Regions from separate parts of the Homo sapiens genome. Here regions 1, 2, 3, 5, 6 and 7 are each linked to region 4. Evidence: promoter capture Hi-C in 16 types of primary human blood cells and fetal thymus (Javierre and others, 2016). All regions are on one chromosome and are shown on one strand. Each heading gives the region's core, a stretch centred on a gene start or on the middle of the fragment in contact. The rest is flanking DNA. Distances are from core to core; before and after follow the strand shown.

Region 1 (2,700 bases), core at 1-2,500, 470 kb after region 4:
GTGCAGAGGGATGGAAGAAGTAATCATAAGAGAGAAAGGCTGGGTGCAGTGGCTCACACCTGTAATCCCAGCACTTTGGGAGGCCGAGGTGGGCGGATCACCTGAGGTCGGGAGTTCGAGACCAGCCTGACCAACATGGAGAAATCCCATCTCTACTAAAAATACAAAATTAGCCAGGCGTGGAGCTGCGTGCCTGTAATCCCAGCTACTTGGGAGGCTGAGGCAGGAGAATTGCTTGAACACTGGAGGCGGAGGTTGCAGTGAGCCGAGATGGTGCCATTGCACTCCAGCCTGGGCAACAAACGTGAAACTCTGTCTAAAAAAAAAAAGGAAAGAAAGAAAGAAAAAGAAAGAAAGAAAGAGCGAGAAATTACTCTAAAGAAGGAAAAAAAATGGGATCCTGAAAACTGCAAAGACAAAATTCTCCCACTTTGTAATTTTCCTGAGGCCAGTTATGTCGTGGCAATAATTGAGCTGTTTGTCTGTAATCTTGCATCTGAAAACAGTCAATCTGAGATCTGATTAATACTGAGCATTTTGTAGATAGCCATATAAACATTTCAGATAAAATTCTTTAAAAAATAAGTTACTTGGCACAATCCTTCCATTATTTTCCCTTAAGTCACTTATTTGTTGTTTCTCTTACTTGGAGAAGACAATGTGTTGCTTCTTCCTCTGGTCCCAGTTATGTGAGCTGCTACTCTCTGAGGACCTCTTTCTCTCACTAGGGGAGAAATATTTTGTTGCTTTTCTAAAAGAGAAATGATAAAGGGTCATCAACACTTGCCAAACTAGTTCTCCAATACCTTGCTCTTCATAGGTGTTGTCAATCAGCCATCGTAAGCATACTGGGCTTCCAAAGTTGATTCTATGAGTTTTCATAAAAATAACATTTTGATATTATGATCAACCTACCTCAGCTTATGATCAACTTGAAAAGTACTTTACACGGAAAGAATAAGCAGTAACATGGATTATAATTTATTAGTGTCTCACGGGTAGGGTCCAAAGAGAAACAAAGTGAAGATACAACAAAGTGAAGATTCTATCCCTTTTCCAAAAATATAAATAAAGAAATAGCTGTAGCTGTGTAATAATCCTGCTGAGTTAAATTGTGCAAATAACTACGTATTGGCAAATTTCCACCTTGAATTACATACAGAAATAAACAGAGTGGTACCAACAAACAGATGGTCAGGAGATTGAGACTATCCTGGCTAACACGGTGAAACCCCATCTCTACTAAAAATACAAAAAAATTAGCTGGGCATGGTGGCAGGCACCTATAGTCCCAACTACTCAGGAGGCTGAGGCAGGAGAATGGTGTGAATCCAGGAGGCGGAGCTTGCAGTGAGCAGAGATCTCACCATTGCACTCCAGCCTGGGCAACAGAGCAAGACTCCGTCAAAAAAAAAAAAAAAAAAAAGAAATGTAACAAATGACTTTCTCTAAAAGAATCAGTTCAAACTTCCCAAGTGTGCTTACATTGGTTGTAAGTAAATTATATTCTTTCATCAAACAGACAGTGCTAGGGTAAGGCACTACACCCCAGAGGGCTACAAATATTAATCACTGATTTCACTGACCATGTCCTCAAGGGACTTACAGCCTTCTACAGAAAATATGAATTAGAAAGTGACAATTTGGAGGCCAAGATGGGTGGATCACTTAGCCTGAGAGTTTGAGATTAGCCTGGGCAACATAGTGAAACCTTGTCTCTATAAAAAATAGAAAAATCAGCCAGGCGTGTTGGCCTGTGCCCGTAGTCCTACTATTCGGGAAGCTGAGGTGGGAGGATTGTTTGAGGCCAGGAAGTTGAGGCTGCAGTGAGCCATGATCGTACCACTGCACTCCAGCCTGGGCAACAGATTTGTTAAGGTCATTTCAAGGATATGGATAGGAAAGCCTAGATTTGAAAGCAAATTTTTAAAAGAGGAAATTTCCAACTGGTTATAGCAAACACCTCCCAAAAAAGAAACCTGCAAATATGTATATCGAGGTACCATGGATATATCTTGGTATACAGAGTTGTGTTTCACCTTACTGGGATGAATAACAAAGAATTTTATTCTTCCAACACTGAAAACAGTACATGCATCTATCTGCTGTAGACCATTAATCTGGTATGCCTCATCTGAATAGGTGGAGTGTTCAACATTCTCACTACTGCTTTCACCTTTGGAGAAATGATAAGAAAGAAGGCTTAGACCCCAGGAACAGGTCCTGTCCTTTATATTTAAGAAAACATATTTAATAAAGGAAAATGGGGGTGCCAAGTGATGAAGAAGTTTATTGCATTGGAAAAGAATAACAGATTTAAAAAAATAACTGAAAGGAAATGAACAAGGTACATGTGATAAAAATAACAGAGTGCAGGGAATTTACTTAGAAAGGTGTCCAGGGAAGCCCTCTCTGAAGAGGTGACAATTACGTGAGCTGTAAAGTACGATGGAGTGCCAGATGGAAAGCTAAAGAAGCCAGCCTGGGCAACAGTAGTGCACAGAGAGGTGGGTCGAGAGAAGGCTGCTGACCATGAACAAGAGGGTGGTGTGGCCACAGGTGGAGACCGCAGGATGAGGATCGTGGGTGGGTAGAAAGATTGTTGGGAAAAGGATGATGGAGGAGGAGGCTTTTGTAAAGAAAGACCTGGAGCCCAGTGGTGGCCTGAAACAAAGAAGGGTAACTTTAAGGGACTTCATT
Region 2 (2,700 bases), core at 159-2,658, 340 kb before region 4:
TTATTTATGTGAAGCCATATTTATGTGCATATAAAATGTCAATTTGGAGTGATCCGAGTGTTAAAAAATTTATGAACAAAGTAATAATATGGTGGAATGAGATTAAGGAAGAGCAACTCCGCTAAATGTACCACCAAGAAATCAATCTTTAATTGTATTACTATTTCTTTAGGAAATTTTAAATATCGCTACCCACAGTTTAAAAATTACCAGCTCCAAGAAGTGGATGAAATGGAAATGAAGCACTGTTATCAGGCAATAACGTTTATTTGGCCATGGTGTTCACGAGGGACCTCGCCAGGGTTCAAGGGCCAAAAAAGTAAAGAGAAGTCACACTAGACACAGAAAAGGTAACCAGACAGGTATGCCAAGGGCAGTAAACAAGCGCATGCCAGCAAACAAGAGGTGGAAGCCAGGCCTGCAGGATCTTCCTCCTGAGCCCTACCGAGGCATTTACTAGCTTTCTCAAGTTAACTTAGATGTCTTGTAGACACTGTATCTTCAAGTGATCTAAACTTTAGCTTTCTGAATCAGCTCTTCCCAGTTTCTTCCACTATCAGAGTCACCTTCCGGACACCTTTTTTTTTTTTTTTTTTTTTTTTTGAAACAGAGTCTTGCTCTGTTGCCCAGGCTGGAGTGCAGTGGCACAATCTCGACTCACTGCAAGCTCCGCCTCCCGGGTTCACGCCATTCTCCTGCCTCAGCCTCCCGGGTAGCTGGGACTATAGGCGCCCGCCACCATGCCCGGCTAATTGTTTTGTATTTTTAGTAGAGACGGGGTCCGACACATTATTTTGATCAGACCACCCCTGCTTCCCCACACCGCCCTGCCCCGCACAGTACTGCCCCACTGTCTCCCATAAAGTCAAACCACTAGCTTGGCTCACAAAGCCTCTGCATCCCAGCTGCAACTAGCAGTTCCAGCTTAATCCCCCATCCGGCTATGCTAACACTCAGATGTGATGAACCACCCTACCGTGCCTGACAAAGTCTTTGGCACTGCTGTTTACATCTACTACACCTAGAAAGTTCTTCTTTCCCTTTTAAAAATGTTTGTCCATCCTAAATGCCCCACATCCTTCATGTTGTGTGGAGCTCCCCAACTGGACCTTTTCCATTGGGAAAGCCCAATGCTTTCCCTCTTGCCATTAAATCGGGGCATTGTTTCTGCATGCAACTGACACTTCTGCAGATTTTATAAGCTCCTTCAACTTAAGAATCATGGCTTTTATTTATGTACATCCTCATATGATTAGCCAAATGCCCTGCACATAGAAAACATTCAATAAATACATATTGATTGAAACCTAAAACAGTGAGGTGCTGATTAAATATTATAAGCAAAAATTTACTAGTATTAGTACAGATTGCTACGCAAGGCTGGAAAAATGTACTAAAATAGAATCTTGAGGGAAAATGGAAAAGATGCCATTTCATTGAGAGAAACATAGAGAAAGTTACTGCCCATTCAATAGGTAGAAAGTAGTCTGGTAAGGCTAGGACTGAGCCCAAGACATGAGTCCCTCAGCAAGTTCGCCACTGGCAAGGTTCAAATCTGATTCATGGTGGCATTCTTAGTGATTACCGTAGAAGCTGGCTCATAGGAGACAGTAACCGTATGATGAATTATTTAATAAATATGTGAATAATGTTTTCAGAATCAAAATGTCCAATTCTGTAACTGGAATTCTATTGATGAAACAAACTAGACTATCCATCAAAATGATGTTGTTTGGCAGAATGTGTTTCAAATAAATATTATCAATTTCTTTTGCTTTCAATATTAGCAGTGAGGTCTGACTATATTTGTGGATATCCCCAGAAATACTCAAGTAAATGCATGGGGAAAAGATACAGAAAGAAAAGGGGAAAGTGAATGGGGAAATAAAAAGTGGAATGCAGAGGATAGGAAAGAAGAAATGAGTGAAAGCTATGAGAAACAGAAAAATGCTAACCCCAATTATTTAGGCTCCACACGTTCTGCTAGCATGTTTAATGACAGAATAAAAAAAGGTTGGCCGGGAGCGGTGGCTCAAGCCTGTAATCCCAGCACTTTGGGAAGCCGAGGTGGGCAGATCACCTGAGGTCAGGAGTTCAAGACCAGCCTGGCCAATGTGGTGAAACCCCGTCTCTACTAAAAATACAAAAATACAAAAAAAAAAAAAAAAAAGCCAGGCATGGTGGTGGGCACTTGTAATCCCAGCTATTTGGGAGGCTGAGGCAGGAGAATTGCTTAAAGCTGGGAGGCAGAGGTTGCAGTGAGCCGAGACTGCACCATTGCACTCCAGCCTGGGCAACAAGAACAAAACCCCATCTCAAAAAAAAAAAAAAAAAAGGTTAAGACAGTTTCTGATAATAGCAAAAAGTTAGCACTTCCTAATTTGGACATGCTAAATAATAAATCCCAGATCTATTTTTAATTTAAACTGATTTAATTTTAAGGGCCTATTACATTAAAAAAATCACTAGAAATATGAATGCAGTCATTAGTGAGCCTAGGCTGCTTCAGTTATTTACTTTTTATACCTAAAAAGCACACATTCAATGTTCACCCAGAATGTACAGGGTCAACTCCACAGGAAACAGTTTCACATTTTTACCAGGAACTTTACCAAAACCAGAGAAAAAACACCACCAACTGTGACTATTCCTCCCCCTTTAATATTATTCTACACCACATTAGCCCCATCTAGCTGAAAC
Region 3 (2,700 bases), core at 85-2,584, 340 kb after region 4:
ATATTATTCTTGTGTTGGCATATGTGCTTTTTATTATGTTTTGGTAGGTCTTTATTGTCTGATATTGGAGGAGCAAGGGGAACCAGACATTACTGTCAGCATGTACATTTCATGCTAGGGTTTACCAGAAAGAAACTTAGAATCAACAGTTATCTGAGGCCTGCTGTGTCAGAGCTTGGGGCTTTTATGTGAGCCGTCAAATTCAGACCTCACCAGTGTGTTCCAAGGAAGCGTCTCTGCCTGTACTTCACTGGCAGGACCCGCCTGAGGGAGAGTAAACAGCCTCACAGATGTAGTCCCACAGCTCATGTCTGAGGCCAACATGGCAGCCTGCTCTGCAGGGTTGCCTCTTACCATGCGGCTGACTTTCCACCTAGAAAAAAATCTGTGTTAGCAGTGATGTCCGTGGTCTCTCAGAACACACAGGGAGTCCTTTCTAAAAATTCTGTCTTCACAGCATTAAGATGATTATAACTAACACATATTGAGTTATTATATATCAGGATTAGCCTAAGCACTTTGATTTTATTTATTTACTTATTTTATTTATTATTTTGAGACAGAGTCTCGCTCTTGCCCAGGCCGGAGTACAGTGGCAGTCTTGGCTCACTGCAACCTCTGCCTACCGGATTCAAGCGATTCTCCTGCCTCAGCCTCCTGAGTAGCTGGGACTACAGGCACGCATCACCACGCCTGGCTAATTTTTGTGTTTTTAGTAGAGATGGGGTTTCACCATGCTGGCCAGGCTGGTCTCGAAATCCTGACCTTGTGATCCGCCCGCCTCGGCCTCCCAAAATGCTAGAATTACAGGCCTGAGCCACTGTGCCCGGCCAGCAGTTTTCTTTTATTAACCCATTTAAACCTCACAATATCTCTGAGGTTGGTTCCATCATTTCACTGATTGTACAGATGAGAAAACTGAGGCACGAAGAGGCTAAACTACTTGCTGGTGTTTCATAGTCTACAGAGCCAATTCCAGTCTCAGAAATTGCATTTACTGAGAGCCTACCAAGTACCCAGATCTTTAGGGGGTATAGAAGAAGTTTAACTAGAATCTATTTTCTTATGTATTTAATGAATTTTTTTGTTGTAGAGAGTAAAATGACATGAAATTGGAAATGACTGTGATAAATGATTTTCATAGTATAAAAATTGGTACCAAGTCTTTCTCATCCCTTTCATGTCATGGTTTCATTCTTGCAGTTCTCTTTCTATTCTTACCTCTTTTATTTCCTTAAGAAGAGGAAAGGGTAGGGAAAACCTTTAAAGTGAGGAAGGTGTCAGCTTTTTAATAATGTGCCAACTTGCTACCTCTGTCTTTAATGTCTCCCTGTGGCTCTTGGTCACACTTCAGAGTGAGATGACTGGAGAAAGTCTTCAGAAGGCATTAGCTATGATCATCTTGCATCATTGCTCAGCCCTTCTGACCTTGGGCCTGTGTGTTCATCTTAGGGCACAGGCCCCAAAAGGACAGGGTACATCAGTGTTTCTAGATGGCCCAATTGACACTTGATGCTTTCCTGCCTTGGGCTGTTTCACCCAAAGCTCTTAGGATTCCTTATGTCTCCCCTTCCCACCTTATACTTGTTTCACCCAGGAAAGAGCCTCTGTCATGCCCATCGTCTCCTTCCCTCCTGAAGGCTCAGTATCTGGTTAATTACATGACATAGGAATTACTTACCATCTATTTTGGCTATTTCCATACACATTCTGAGAACAAAATAAAAGAGCTCTTCTCCATGCCCCTCTCATAATTTCTTCCCATGCCCTTTTTTGGGGAAGGCAGGCCAGTCAAAGCAGTGATGGCTTTGATCAGAGCAACGAGCAGATCATGATTTATTATTGCCGGAGTAGACAGTGGGCTACATTAGAGGACTGCTTAGACGCATGCTTATTCTAGAAAAGGCTGAAGGAAGAAAGAACCACCCCTTTCCCTCCTCTTCTCAGCTCCCTTCTGCTGGGAGCACCTGGCTGCCAGTTCCCAAGTTCCTCTCCATGGGGAATTGCAGCTCCAAGGTGGCCTCCTGGAGCTGCCTAACTCCGCCTTCACTGAAAATAAGGTGATTGAACTGTAAAGCTGAAATCCTCTGCAGTCATGTCTCCTCCAGAGTCTTCAAGGTCACTCCCACTTTTTTTCTAGACACAAATGGGGTCATTTTTGTAATTCTAATTAACACTGTCTCCAGACATAAATAAAATTTTAAATTTCTCATTGCTATCAGCTGTTTCCACTATGTTTTTCATAAATTGGAATGCAATTTTAAACAGTTAATAAAATTCTCCAGTACAAGAGCAAAACAAGAAGTTAAAGGAACACAATAGTCTAGAAACAGAAGATTTTGATGTATTTTTAAATTGATATGTATGTTATCTGTTCTATTTAGATTACAAACTTAGAGTAATGAATTTGCTTCAGTAAATTTCTTTGTGACTGTGAGTGCTATTGCTTATATTATAATTGGGTCTGGGTCCAAATATATATTGAACTTATTTTCCAAAAGAAATACTCTCCTTAGATTGTGGCATGGCAGGAAAGCATACTGTTCCTAGTAGTCCTCTCCAAACTCCTTTAAAAACTGAGCTTTATGGCAAATTTGTAATGAAGATGTAACACTTTCACTACTTAAACCATGACTTCAATTTGTGATATAATTAAGGGCAATTACTCCTGTTAGAGATTGTAGACTAGGTTAGGCTGAG
Region 4 (2,700 bases), core at 26-2,525:
CGGCTTCTCATGCAGGACTATGACCTAGAATTGGAGTTATGTTATAGAAAGATGGCTTCAAGTTCCCCTTTGAGGAGCTCCACAGTAAATAAGCCATTTAGGAGAGAGGTCCCCATTTCTCTGGACTCACCATTGCCTCCAAAAAAAAAAAAAAAAGGCTAAAATCTCCCCAAAAGAATGGCAAATGAACAAGGGAAGGAAGGAGCTATTTCTTAGTGTTCTTTAGACTTTAACAGAGTATTATGTACTGCTATTATTATTTTTTAGGTTAACAAAAGTAATACATTGTCTCTAGTGACTCCCTGAATGCTCCTTTGTAGCTTAATAGTTGAGGCTGAATGTAGCTATTCAGAATACCTGGACAGCTATGGATGGAAGGGGCTTCTCTAGGCTAACTTTTGCTCTCTTGTCTCCTGAATAATCTGAGGGGTGGCATGGGATGCAGTCTGTTAACCTCTTAGAGCCTGTACAACAGAAATACATTACATTTGACTTAATATGAACTCAACAGTTATTTAATGAGTCCTATTGTGGTCCTTGCACTGTGCTATATTTTACGGATATAAAGATAAAAGTAAGAAACAGTCTTTGTCCCTGAGAAACGCATTGTGAAATAAGGCTGGGTGAGTTGGCTCACGCCTGTAATCTCAACACTTTGGGAGGCCAAGGCGGGAGAATCACTTGAGCGACAGAGTTCCAGACCAGCCTGGGCAACCTATTGAGACCCCCTCTCTTCCAAAAAAGGAAAAAAAAAAAAAAAAAAAAAGGGTGCGGTGGCTCATGCCTGCCCCGTGCCTGCAGTCCCCAAAACAAACAACAACAACAACAAAAAACAAAAAACAAAAAGAAAGAGGAAAGAGAGATTTTAACTTAAGTATAATAAAAATTGCTCATACTATGTTAGTTGTATGAATAAAATGCTGTGGGAAATGTGGGAGTAATATAGCTCACAAGGTTGCTGTGGGGGTTAACAACAACAAAAAGCGAAATATATGTGTAAATGAAAAAAAGTCAGTTTTAGGCTTAATTATCACTGAGTAAACATTGCCTTTATATTACTTTGGCGATCTGCAGAACGCGCAGCCCTCGCCATTCAGGAGTTGTTAGTTCCCTAAGCCTCAGGTTTCTTTAGTCTGGCTGAACCAAAAGGAGTTTCTGCTTAGCTAGGCAGGGCCGGGGGACAACAGCTTCTGCGAGTCTGCGATTGTGGCGGCCGGTATATTCGGCGGTTTACGGTAATGGGCGGGCCCCAAATCCCCATGTGGTCCCGACATCATTGACATGGCGGAATCCCCCATCAAACCCTCCTGGTAGTTATTTGAGCGGCGGCGGCGGCGGCTGGAGGAGGAGAGCGGCGGCGGCGGGAGCAGCGAAGGGGGCGGCAGGGATCCTCCAGGCTGCCGGCTGGGAAGGCGTGGGCGACCCGGTGTGTGGCGCGCCCAGAGCCCCGCGTTTCAGCCCTAGGGAAGGTAAGGCGTGCAAGAGCCGGGGACTAGAGGAGACCGGGACCCCGAGCGCGATCGCCGGGTCCCGGTGCACTGGAAAGCCCCGGCCTGACGCCGAGTCCGCCAAAGTGCGTCCCTGTCCCGGGAGCGCCCTGGGCTTCCCGGCAAAAACTTGGCGCCGGAGTGCTGGGGCGCCCCGTGCTCGCCTGGGCACCCCGGGAACACGGGACCCGGGAGGGGGCGGCCCCCGCCTTGCTGGGCTGGGGTCCCCCGCCTGTGCCCCCTGCCTCAGGGTTTGGAGGAGTGAAAGAAACGGGTAGATTCCTCTTAAAAAAAATTGGGCAGTGGCTCGCGGCCTCCCCCCACCCCCAGCCTTCCCAGCAGATTTTGTCCGAGGAATCCGCTCCCCCTCCCGGAATCTCCGCGGCAGGAACGCTGCCCAGGAGGGGGAGGGCGGGCGGCGAGGCCGAGGAATCTTCGACGTGTCACTTTCTGAGGCTGTAGATTTCCATATGGTGGAGGGAAGAGGGCGGGAGTGCGAAGTGGGGCTGGAAGTTGGGGCCGCCTCTCCGCGCCGGCGGGGGCGGTCGGGGGCCTCGAACCCGGGGATGCTCGCGGGGAGGGTCCCGAGCCCGCGCCGGCCTGGCCCCCCCGTCCCCGGCTGGGCCTCTCCGGGACACTCCCCGCCCCGCTGCTGGCCACCTCCGAGCACGCCACGTCCTCCTCCCCGTCCTGCCCCCCGGGCTCCCCCCGGGCTGGGGGCGGTAACCGGCGGCCGCGGCCGGACTTGGCGAGCCGGCGGCTGGAAGCTCGGGCGGGGGAGCGGGGCGCGGCGGGAAGGAGCGGGCGACCCGGTGTGTGGGCCAGCGGAGCTCCGGTCAGTCGGTCACCCCGAGGGGCGCCTCGGCCGGGGATAGGGCGGGCGGGCGGAATCTGCGCCCCGAGGCGGCCAGGAGGGGCCGCGCGGACCGTCTGGTGCCCGCGGCTGGGCTGGGGCCGGCAGGCGTGGGAAGGGCCTGTCACTCTCGGCAGAAAGTGGGGCCTCGGGCTGTGCCCGCGAACTTTCCCAGAGGTCCGGGTCCCGGCGTCCCGTGGGAACCGGAGGACCCGGGCCCGCCGTCTCGGGAGACTGGGCTGCGCCGCCCGGCGGCGCCTTTGGCGGGGAGGCTTCCAGGAGTGCGCGGTCGGAGTTGGAGCTTTTGGAATCTCAGCTCCCACCCTGCCATCCCAGACGAAGGGAAGCAATGGCATTTTA
Region 5 (2,700 bases), core at 100-2,599, 360 kb before region 4:
CGTGCCACATCACGAGCCGCCTTCCCGTGGACTGCAGAGGCAATGTCATGCCAGGGCATCCGGGGCGTGGAGTACCTGTCAATGAAATCTGCCCGGGTGCACCAGGCAAGGATCAGTCATTAACTTCAGTGTTGGGGCAAAGTCTCTCTGACTCCAACTATGAAACTAAAAGGAAACGTGGGTTAGTGCCCACTAGGTATATATTTCTTGGCTTGCATAGAACAACATTTTTATAATCAAGGGAAACAGATTTCACATTCAGGGACATAGTCTCCCAGGCACTTCCCCACATATGTTTCCGTTTCACTTAGGATTAGATAATCACTAGACATGGCAAGATGTGAGTTGGTACAAATTATCTAAGGCTGTGTATTTGATATTATATTTTTTATTTTTTATCCTGTTGAAACAATGGCAGGCAATGCCATCTCTATCTCCTCTTAAACATATAAACCCAGTGATAACCTGAAAATATGCCATTCTAACGCTGGAAATGCAGGAAATAAGCAGAATAGAAGATGATCAAAGGGAGCCTACCATTTCCTGAAAAATTACTGATTATTGCCCCCAAAATATGCCTATAAAAATCTGGATTTTTCAGACAGTTCAGCTCTATTTCATGTTCTTTTCTTATTATAACTGAAAAAAAAGTCCTTAAGCACATGCTAATGACTAAATCTAGTCTCCAAAGTTTTAAAAAATTTTCAAAAATCAACGGAAGCAAAACAAAAGGCATTTAGATCATGCACATGTATACTTGCTGAGATGTTCAAAGGTAAAAGACAAAATATAACCAGCACCCCACCATTATGATACTCACCAGCAAAAGGTTTATCAAGTTGAACCCAGTCTTTGAAGACGAAATTGCAGTAGTCCTTTCCATGCCAGAATCTGGTTTCCCCATGCAGCTCTCCCACACCTGTCTGTAAACTACGGATGGACCCGGTATCTGTGAATGCAGCAAGACCCCCTCAGAGACTGTGGTTCAGGTGAGTCCCAGAAAGGGAGGCTCAACTCTCATTTATTAAACACCTAAAAGCTTCTTAATTTCTTAAGACACAACTAGGGTGGCATCTGTCCATTCTATTACAGGCTGTGGGCTAACAAGGTTTTACAGTCCTTACAAGTTTACTTTTAGTGGGCAGTTAGGGCTACAACAAGATTCATCATTAAACAATGAAATTTGACCTTCTCAGGCAGTTGAGTAACTTATTTCCACCACCTACCAGATCACTGGAAGAACTATCACAGAATTAACTGTGAATAAAGAACTCACAAGGTGGCACTATGAGAGCAGTAAAGCTGGTGGGGGGCTTTCAGGGGCAGAGTGGGAAGGGCGGGGAGGGGAGAGGTGGAGAAACCTGAGACGCAGGGGCAATAAAGACACCATGCCACTTCTTTTTCCTCAACCAACATGGTGCACACCTGATGCATAATTCTTTTGCATTAAAGCAAGAACCTCAAATTTACAGATAGCCCATGTTCCAGCCCTGGAATTAATTAGCTAAGTGACACTGAGCTTCAGTTTTTTAGATCATAAATCCATTATGCGTAAAATGAAGAATTTGGCCTAGATAACAGCTAAAATCTGTTGCGCTTTAACATTTATATACTTCAAATCATAGATGGCATTTATAAAAAATATGGTAACAACAGATGAAAGCTTATGATATAGGTGCAAAAGCAGCAATCTACTATAGCATTTCACAAATAACTGTGCCGAGACCATTGACTTACGGCTAAATACAAAGACAATGAAGTAAAAAGATGCAGAATTACAAATCACAAACGCAGCACTTGGCACAAAAGAGGCATTTAACAAATAGACACTGAATGCAAAAATATGTGTTGAATGAATAAATGGTACTGCTTGCAGTAGCCAGTGAGAGGACTACACTGGTCCTGCCACCAACACACTGTCCCAGAACTGTCTTTGTAAAATGCACTCTTTGCTTAAAACCCTGGAAGGTTCACATACTGCCTATAGGAAGCTCAAGTCCTAAGGGCTTAGTGTGCATAGAAGACTCTTCCCAAACTGGTGCCAATCTATCTTTCTAGTCCTTGTTTTTCCCCACCCAACCCCAGGCCCCATGCAAATCACGTGTTTCACTGTATTATAACAGGTGTGGACTGCCATGTCTCCATGCAGTTGGCACATTATTACTTCTACCTGAAATGCTCCTTTCTCCCTCTTGGCCTGATATCCTAATCATCCTTCAAGAGCCACATTAGCTATCACCTGCCATCTCCCCATAAGGAAGAGGCAGTCACTAGCACTGCTGTCATCCCACTAACAACTGCCCCAACACCTCTGACTCTGTGACGCAATTGTATCAGGATGCTCCCCTGCCCGCATCAATGCCTCACCAGTCTATAAACTCTTTGGGAGTGGGAACCAAATCTTCTCACTGCCAGTAGCTCCAAGCACCCAGGCAATCAATAAATATTTGCAGAACAAATGTTTTTATGTAATCACCACACACAATGCTAATATTCTATCTCAAACTGAATCATTAACCTTTCAAAGGCTATTAAAGTTTTCTACAGAAGAAAAATGATTTAAAATGCCATAGATTAGCAAAATGAAATCATGTTAAAAATAGACTTCTATTGACTTCTCCCAGTGATTTATTTTCCTGCTTTATGAGACTGAAAGGCCAAAGTACGGGTAGGTCTGTTTGCTCATCTATAGGCTCTTTA
Region 6 (2,700 bases), core at 33-2,532, 320 kb after region 4:
CTGTCTCAGCCTCCTGTGCTCAGAGGCCTTAATATTTTCCCCAGAATGCAACAAGACATCATTTCATTCCATTTTATCAGTTCCTCAGTTTTTTTTTTCAATTTTGAATGTTACATCATCATTAGAAATAATTAATGTTAGTTCAGTGCATCAGCTGTACACGTAAATGTTCACGTATTTTCGCTGAAACAAAATGTGTTTTTGTAAAAATGTAGGATAGGTTGAATTGAGTATTTTAGAATCTAGGTAGTTGATTTCAGGGCCAGATGCTGTTTAAATAATGTGAAGTAAACTTGTTGACTCTTCTAAATGCCTGCTTCCTTGGCAGACGGTCAATGTTGAACTGAAAGTGTGGTTTGAATTAAAAATGGTCATTTGGTAGGATTTGTAACCATATTTGGCCCCTGTTACGATATAAGAGTATGGTGTGCCAGACACACAGGCCTTTGCACCTAAAGGGAGTTCTGCTCACGCCTGGATCTAACATGTGTCTGACATGACCTAGCTGAGCTGCAGTTTCTTCAGTTGTAAAGCAGACAAAGTAGCTCCTACCTTATGGGGTCAGCATAGAAATCAGAGATGATATTGTAGATGTCAAACCTAGCTTTCAACCCCTAGTAGTCACTCTGTCATTTAGATCAAGTTATTTAACCTCTCTGCATTTAACTTTGATTTCCTCATCTCTAAAGGCAGATGTAATAGTAGTTCCCACTCTGTAGTGCATTTTCTGGAACAGAGCAAGTTCTCAATGTGTGTAGTGATGGTTGCCATTGTTGTTTTCTTCAGTTCCTGAGATCTTTGTCTCACTCTCACCTTGCTGCGGATGGCCTAGAAAGAAGCCCATCCTTTCAGCTGTTGCTGAGTCCTTGGCCATTACTTGGAGGAAGTGGGATCAGCAAGTTACTCATGTTGTAAAGTGAGGTGGTGTAATAGTGCAGCCGCAGTGAAGACCTGTCCCTGTGCCAGCACTGTTGGGATGGCGTGACACTCTCAAAGAAGTCATCAGGATAATGACTCCAAAAATTAACACTTGAAAATTTGCTAGTGCTTTTGGCTGCCTTGAATCCTCTCCTGATTTTACTGTGGAGTATAAAATATTAAAAATTGGAAAGTGCTTCTTACATCCCTTATCTTAGTTAGGTAATCTTCTTTGTAATTGCAGAAAAAAGTCACTGTCCCCAATTTATAGATAAGAAAGCTGTTACTTAAAAGTGTTCAATAATTTCCCCAAGGTCTCCAAATTGATGAGCAGGATTCCCAAAGAGGCTACACTGCTAAAGAGTGTTAAATGCTACCACAGTTTTCTTGGTGGTGGTGGTGGTGGTGGTGGTGGTGGTGGTGGTGGTGGTGGTGGTGGTGGTGGTGGTGGTGATGGTGGCGGTGGTGTGTGTTAAGGCTAGGATTATATGCCTAGGAGATACTCAGTGAAAGATTAGAGAACCCTAGAGCTAAAGATATAAAGAACCTAGTACTTACCAAAATACTAGGGAGGCTTTGAGGAAGGAAATGAATTTACAACAGAAGCCAAAAATCAAATCTAAATTTTTTTTATATCTTGATACTTGTATCTTCTAAACTATTTTTAAATTCTTATAAGTGATTTAAATCTCTTAGCATTTTTTTTCTTGAGTATAGAATAGAACAACAATCTTAAGGAACTCATTACCTCATTTTCTTTTGTGTATTAAAGTAGCTAAGAGCTATTCAGGTGGCACAGAGCAAAGGGTAGGATCACCTAGAATACAAGGTGAGCCAGCAGATGGCAGAAAGGATCTTGGCCTCTGGAATCTAGGAATGTTTGTACCTAGAGTAAAGGGAAGGAATGGTGGTTTGGACACTGGAAGGACCTTAATATAAACCTTGTAGGTGAGGAAATGTGTTACACTGTTGAAGAAAGACTAAAACTTAATGTCCGGCTTAATTTCCTTTTCCTGAGAAGGGAAAGAGGATAGTAATTTCTACCATCATGATGACTGCCTTTTTAAAAAGATTTTTCATTTCCAGTTGCCGAAAAATATGTTACATTCCAATCATAGAAAGAAACTCTTCTATTAATACCATAAAGCAATCTTATAAGACTCATATGGGAGGCAAGGAAGAGTTCTAATCTTTCAGTGTTATACCGAGAGACTTATATTGCTTTATCTACAAAAGACTTGATGCAGCCCCAGTGTAATAGAATCTGGGAAAAGTAAGGCCCTTTGTAATGGAGTTTTTGCTCTGCTTTATCAGAGATGAGTATTTACTACGTTCCAAACTATGAGGAGATATTTATCTAGTTTTAGGTGATTATAAGTAGAGCTGCTGTAAACATTTGTGTGCAGGTTTTTGTGTGAACATAAATATTAATTTTTCTAGAGTAAATAAATACCTGGGATTGGGATTGCTGGGTCATGTAATAAGTATATATTTAAAAGGCAACTGTTTTCCTATGTGGTGATGCCAGTTTTCATTATCACTAGTGAAATAGGAGAGTTCCAGTTGTACCTTATCCCTGCCAGCACTTTTTTAACATAATGGTATTACATTGCGAATTTAGTTTGCATTTTTCTAATGGCTAATGATGTCAAACATGTTTTTGTGTCCTTATTTGCCATCTGTATTCCCTCTTTGGTGGAGTGTCTATTCTAGTCTTCCGCCCATTTTTAATGGATTATTTCCTTAACTGAGTTTTGGGAGGTCATTATACATTCTGGTTAC
Region 7 (2,700 bases), core at 17-2,516, 380 kb before region 4:
GCAGTCAAAAATCTTTAGCAACTGACTCAGACTAAAGGCATCAATAACCTATTGCTGGCTGAACCAAATTTAAGCTGCTAGGAAATGACAGTACTTTAAAAATGGGCTTTGCAAAGTCATTTTAGTAATAAATACAAGAACATCTGCAGCGAGAACTCTCAGCCAAAGGCTGTTACCTGTGAGCTTTCAGGATCCTCTGGGCAATGGCATCGCCTATCTTGTTGAACACAACTTTGTCATCAGCACAGCTTATGAAAAACTGGTTCTATGAGAAATAAACAAGACAATCATGTTAGTCTTTATTTTCTTAGCAATATACGTAAGAACAATACTGTAATATATTTTTTAAAATGTTTCACACAGCAGATGTGTTCTGATCACTGAAATCACATCAAGAAAGTCAACGACACAGAAAAAAAGCCGCCTCATCTCACTCAGGGTCTCATCTGATTCCAGGTCATATCACCTGTAACACTTAATCAAGTGGAAAGTTACACTATATTATTTCACCATGAGAATTCCTTATAGGTGATTTTCTAAATTACATTCTCAGAATACTTAGGAACACTGCAAATTTAATCAATGGGGAAACTAGTTTTTTTCAGATTCACATGTTGTATAAATGCTTATGATTAAAAATTCTATATTGGCAAACATTCTATCTCATGCTAAGCTTGCTTTTTTAACAGAGTAGATGGTAAAGCCTGGTCTAGTTTTCTCCACCCTTTCTCCATTATTTCCTGGTATCTGCTTTCACCTTGTCTTGTTTGTCTGGGTCTCTTATTATCTCTGAACTTCTATTTTAAGTAGCCTCAACTCTCTTTTGTATGTTGCATATATATAAGCCAGTTAATAAAATAAAAAATGTTTTTTTCCTCTAAGTACTTCTGCTATTTATATATCTACAAAATAGTCTTTAAAACTGTTACTAGAAAACAAGTTACAACATTATCATAACAATGCAAAATATTTTGTTGCTGCATAAAGGAATGTGAAAAATTTGGTGCAAATATTACTAATGTTATGTGTTCAAATAGAATAGATTGTTATAACACATCTGTAATTTATAAGGACAATTATCACAAAGTAATATTTGCTAATCATCTCAAGGTAAAGAGATATATATGTAACAACTCGTAATTATCATCCCTTTGTGGCATTATCATTTTTATGACTATATAAGCTTTTATACTTAAGTGCATAAATCTGTAAAATGCCTCCAGAAGACAAACTTACAGGAAGACACGGTGCAGAAAGTCTTTTGAGAATGTGATTCCCCTTAGGGCATCAGACAATCAAAATCTCATTGGCAACCAAACCATGTTTCTTTTTCTGAATTCATATTATAAAGAAGCTTAGCATGCCTCAGCAGCTGTAAACACAGACTGGCTACATGTCATGTCCTTTACTTCTCCTTTTTTGGAAGAGTCGGATGAATGCTGACTGCTTATCTTGACTAGAGGAGTGTCAACCAGGTCTATGTCCCAACTATGTATACCTACATGGCGTTACTGACATCATTTAATACTACTGTCACATTAAAAAGAAAAGCTGATTATTTTATTTTTTATTTTTTTTATTTTTTTGAGATGGAGTCTCACTTTTGTCACCAAGGCTTGAGTGCAATGGCATGATCTCGGCTCACTGCAACCTTCGCCTCCCAGGTTCAAGTGATTCTCCTGCCTCAGCCTCCCAAGTAGTTGGGATTACAGGTGCCCGCCACCATGCCCGGCTAATTTTTTTGTATTTTTAGTAGAGACGGGGTTTCACCATGTTGGCCAGGCTGGTCTCGAGCTGCTGACCTCAGGTGATCCACCCGCCTTGGCCCCCTCAAAGTGCTGGGATTACAGGCATGAGCCACCGTGCCCGGCCAGAAAAGCTGATGTTAATGCTACTAAAAAGAGATGAAGCAAAATGATTCTGGGCAATAGATGAGCCAGCCTTCACATCTTTCCATCTCTATGGTATAATTGTTTAAATTAATAATACTAATAGCATTACTAAGCTCCAGACTTTATGCAGAGTTCGCTCATTTTCCACTAATGTCCTATATCTATTCCATGATGCCATTCAGGATACCACACTGCATTTAGCCAGCTAATATATTATATTTAACTTAGGTTTCTCTAGCCAGGCTCATGAAACAAATAAAGCTCCAATTCTTCCCTGCTTGTCTCTAATGAATTGTTGCTGTGCAGAGCGGGAGAGGGCCAGGACCCAAGGGGAAGAAAAACAGGGCTAGAATGGTTTTCCTCAGTTAACCCATTCCCCTATCTACCTTTAAAAAATTCAATGGGAAAGAAAAGACTCAAATAAGGAAGGAAATTATGCTATGATTTATTTTTTCCATTATTGTGACTTTTTATTTTCTCAGGGTTTTTCAAGTTCTCTGAACTATTTTTATATTCACTTTGAAGAGTAATTTAAGTTCCCAAACTAAACTCAGTGTCCCCAGATTTTCTCATATGCTCTAAAAATTCTGGGATGAAAAAAAGCTTCCTAATCAATAGTAGTTCACACAGGATTGAAGAAGGTGGTACCTGCTCTTAATGTTCTCACATCTTCCTTTTCCACGTTCTTTTCCCTGCACTCTCCCTACTCCGCCATGCCCAAACCAGTGGCATCCAGTGGTCTCTATTTTAGCAACTCACCCCTGTGTGTGCTCTCCTGAAATAGAACTTGCTTCACACTTAAACCCTC

What was found. Contacts are between HindIII fragments. The CHiCAGO score rates a contact against its expected background, and 5 or more counts as called.
Region 1: a fragment that was not itself captured here is called in contact with the fragment with the promoter of FNDC3B in region 4 in 1 of 17 cell types (neutrophils); the score reaches 5.5 in neutrophils.
Region 2: a contact is called between a fragment that was not itself captured here and the fragment with the promoter of FNDC3B in region 4, in 2 of 17 cell types (M2 macrophages and M0 macrophages). The highest score is 6.5, in M2 macrophages.
Region 3: a contact is called between a fragment that was not itself captured here and the fragment with the promoter of FNDC3B in region 4, in 1 of 17 cell types (neutrophils). The highest score is 5.5, in neutrophils.
Region 5: a fragment that was not itself captured here is called in contact with the fragment with the promoter of FNDC3B in region 4 in 1 of 17 cell types (M2 macrophages); the score reaches 5.3 in M2 macrophages.
Region 6: a contact is called between a fragment that was not itself captured here and the fragment with the promoter of FNDC3B in region 4, in 1 of 17 cell types (neutrophils). The highest score is 5.9, in neutrophils.
Region 7: a contact is called between a fragment that was not itself captured here and the fragment with the promoter of FNDC3B in region 4, in 2 of 17 cell types (M2 macrophages and endothelial precursors). The highest score is 7.2, in M2 macrophages.

The regions. Positions count from the first base shown.
Region 1 is chr3:172,508,571-172,511,270 of GRCh38, forward strand. TNFSF10 (TNF superfamily member 10) reads right to left here. Exons shown (of 5, transcript NM_003810.4): 4 at 647-751. Among named protein-coding and RNA genes, the nearest start is that of TNFSF10, 14 kb to the right of the region's middle. The HindIII fragment of the contact is 3,718 bases long and covers 1-2,700 here.
Region 2 is chr3:171,696,660-171,699,359 of GRCh38, forward strand. The region is part of intron 12 of PLD1 (phospholipase D1); the gene reads right to left. Among named protein-coding and RNA genes, the nearest start is that of PLD1, 110 kb to the right of the region's middle. The HindIII fragment of the contact is 3,778 bases long and covers 1-2,700 here.
Region 3 is chr3:172,373,861-172,376,560 of GRCh38, forward strand. All of the region lies in intron 23 of FNDC3B (fibronectin type III domain containing 3B), which reads left to right. Among named protein-coding and RNA genes, the nearest start is that of GHSR, 73 kb to the right of the region's middle. The HindIII fragment of the contact is 5,833 bases long and covers 1-2,700 here.
Region 4 is chr3:172,038,303-172,041,002 of GRCh38, forward strand. FNDC3B (fibronectin type III domain containing 3B) reads left to right here and starts at 1,276. Exons shown (of 26, transcript NM_022763.4): 1 at 1,276-1,469. RefSeq lists enhancers at 1,096-1,763, 1,764-2,430 and silencers at 1,349-1,528, 1,669-1,768, 1,949-2,198, 2,259-2,628. The HindIII fragment of the contact is 7,479 bases long and covers 1-2,700 here.
Region 5 is chr3:171,676,746-171,679,445 of GRCh38, forward strand. PLD1 (phospholipase D1) reads right to left here. Exons shown (of 27, transcript NM_002662.5): 17 at 821-949; 18 at 1-88. Among named protein-coding and RNA genes, the nearest start is that of PLD1, 130 kb to the right of the region's middle. The HindIII fragment of the contact is 624 bases long and covers 1,038-1,661 here.
Region 6 is chr3:172,357,649-172,360,348 of GRCh38, forward strand. All of the region lies in intron 22 of FNDC3B (fibronectin type III domain containing 3B), which reads left to right. Among named protein-coding and RNA genes, the nearest start is that of GHSR, 89 kb to the right of the region's middle. The HindIII fragment of the contact is 7,884 bases long and covers 1-2,700 here.
Region 7 is chr3:171,659,037-171,661,736 of GRCh38, forward strand. It overlaps PLD1 (phospholipase D1), which reads right to left. Exons shown (of 27, transcript NM_002662.5): 21 at 177-265. Among named protein-coding and RNA genes, the nearest start is that of PLD1, 150 kb to the right of the region's middle. The HindIII fragment of the contact is 171 bases long and covers 1,182-1,352 here.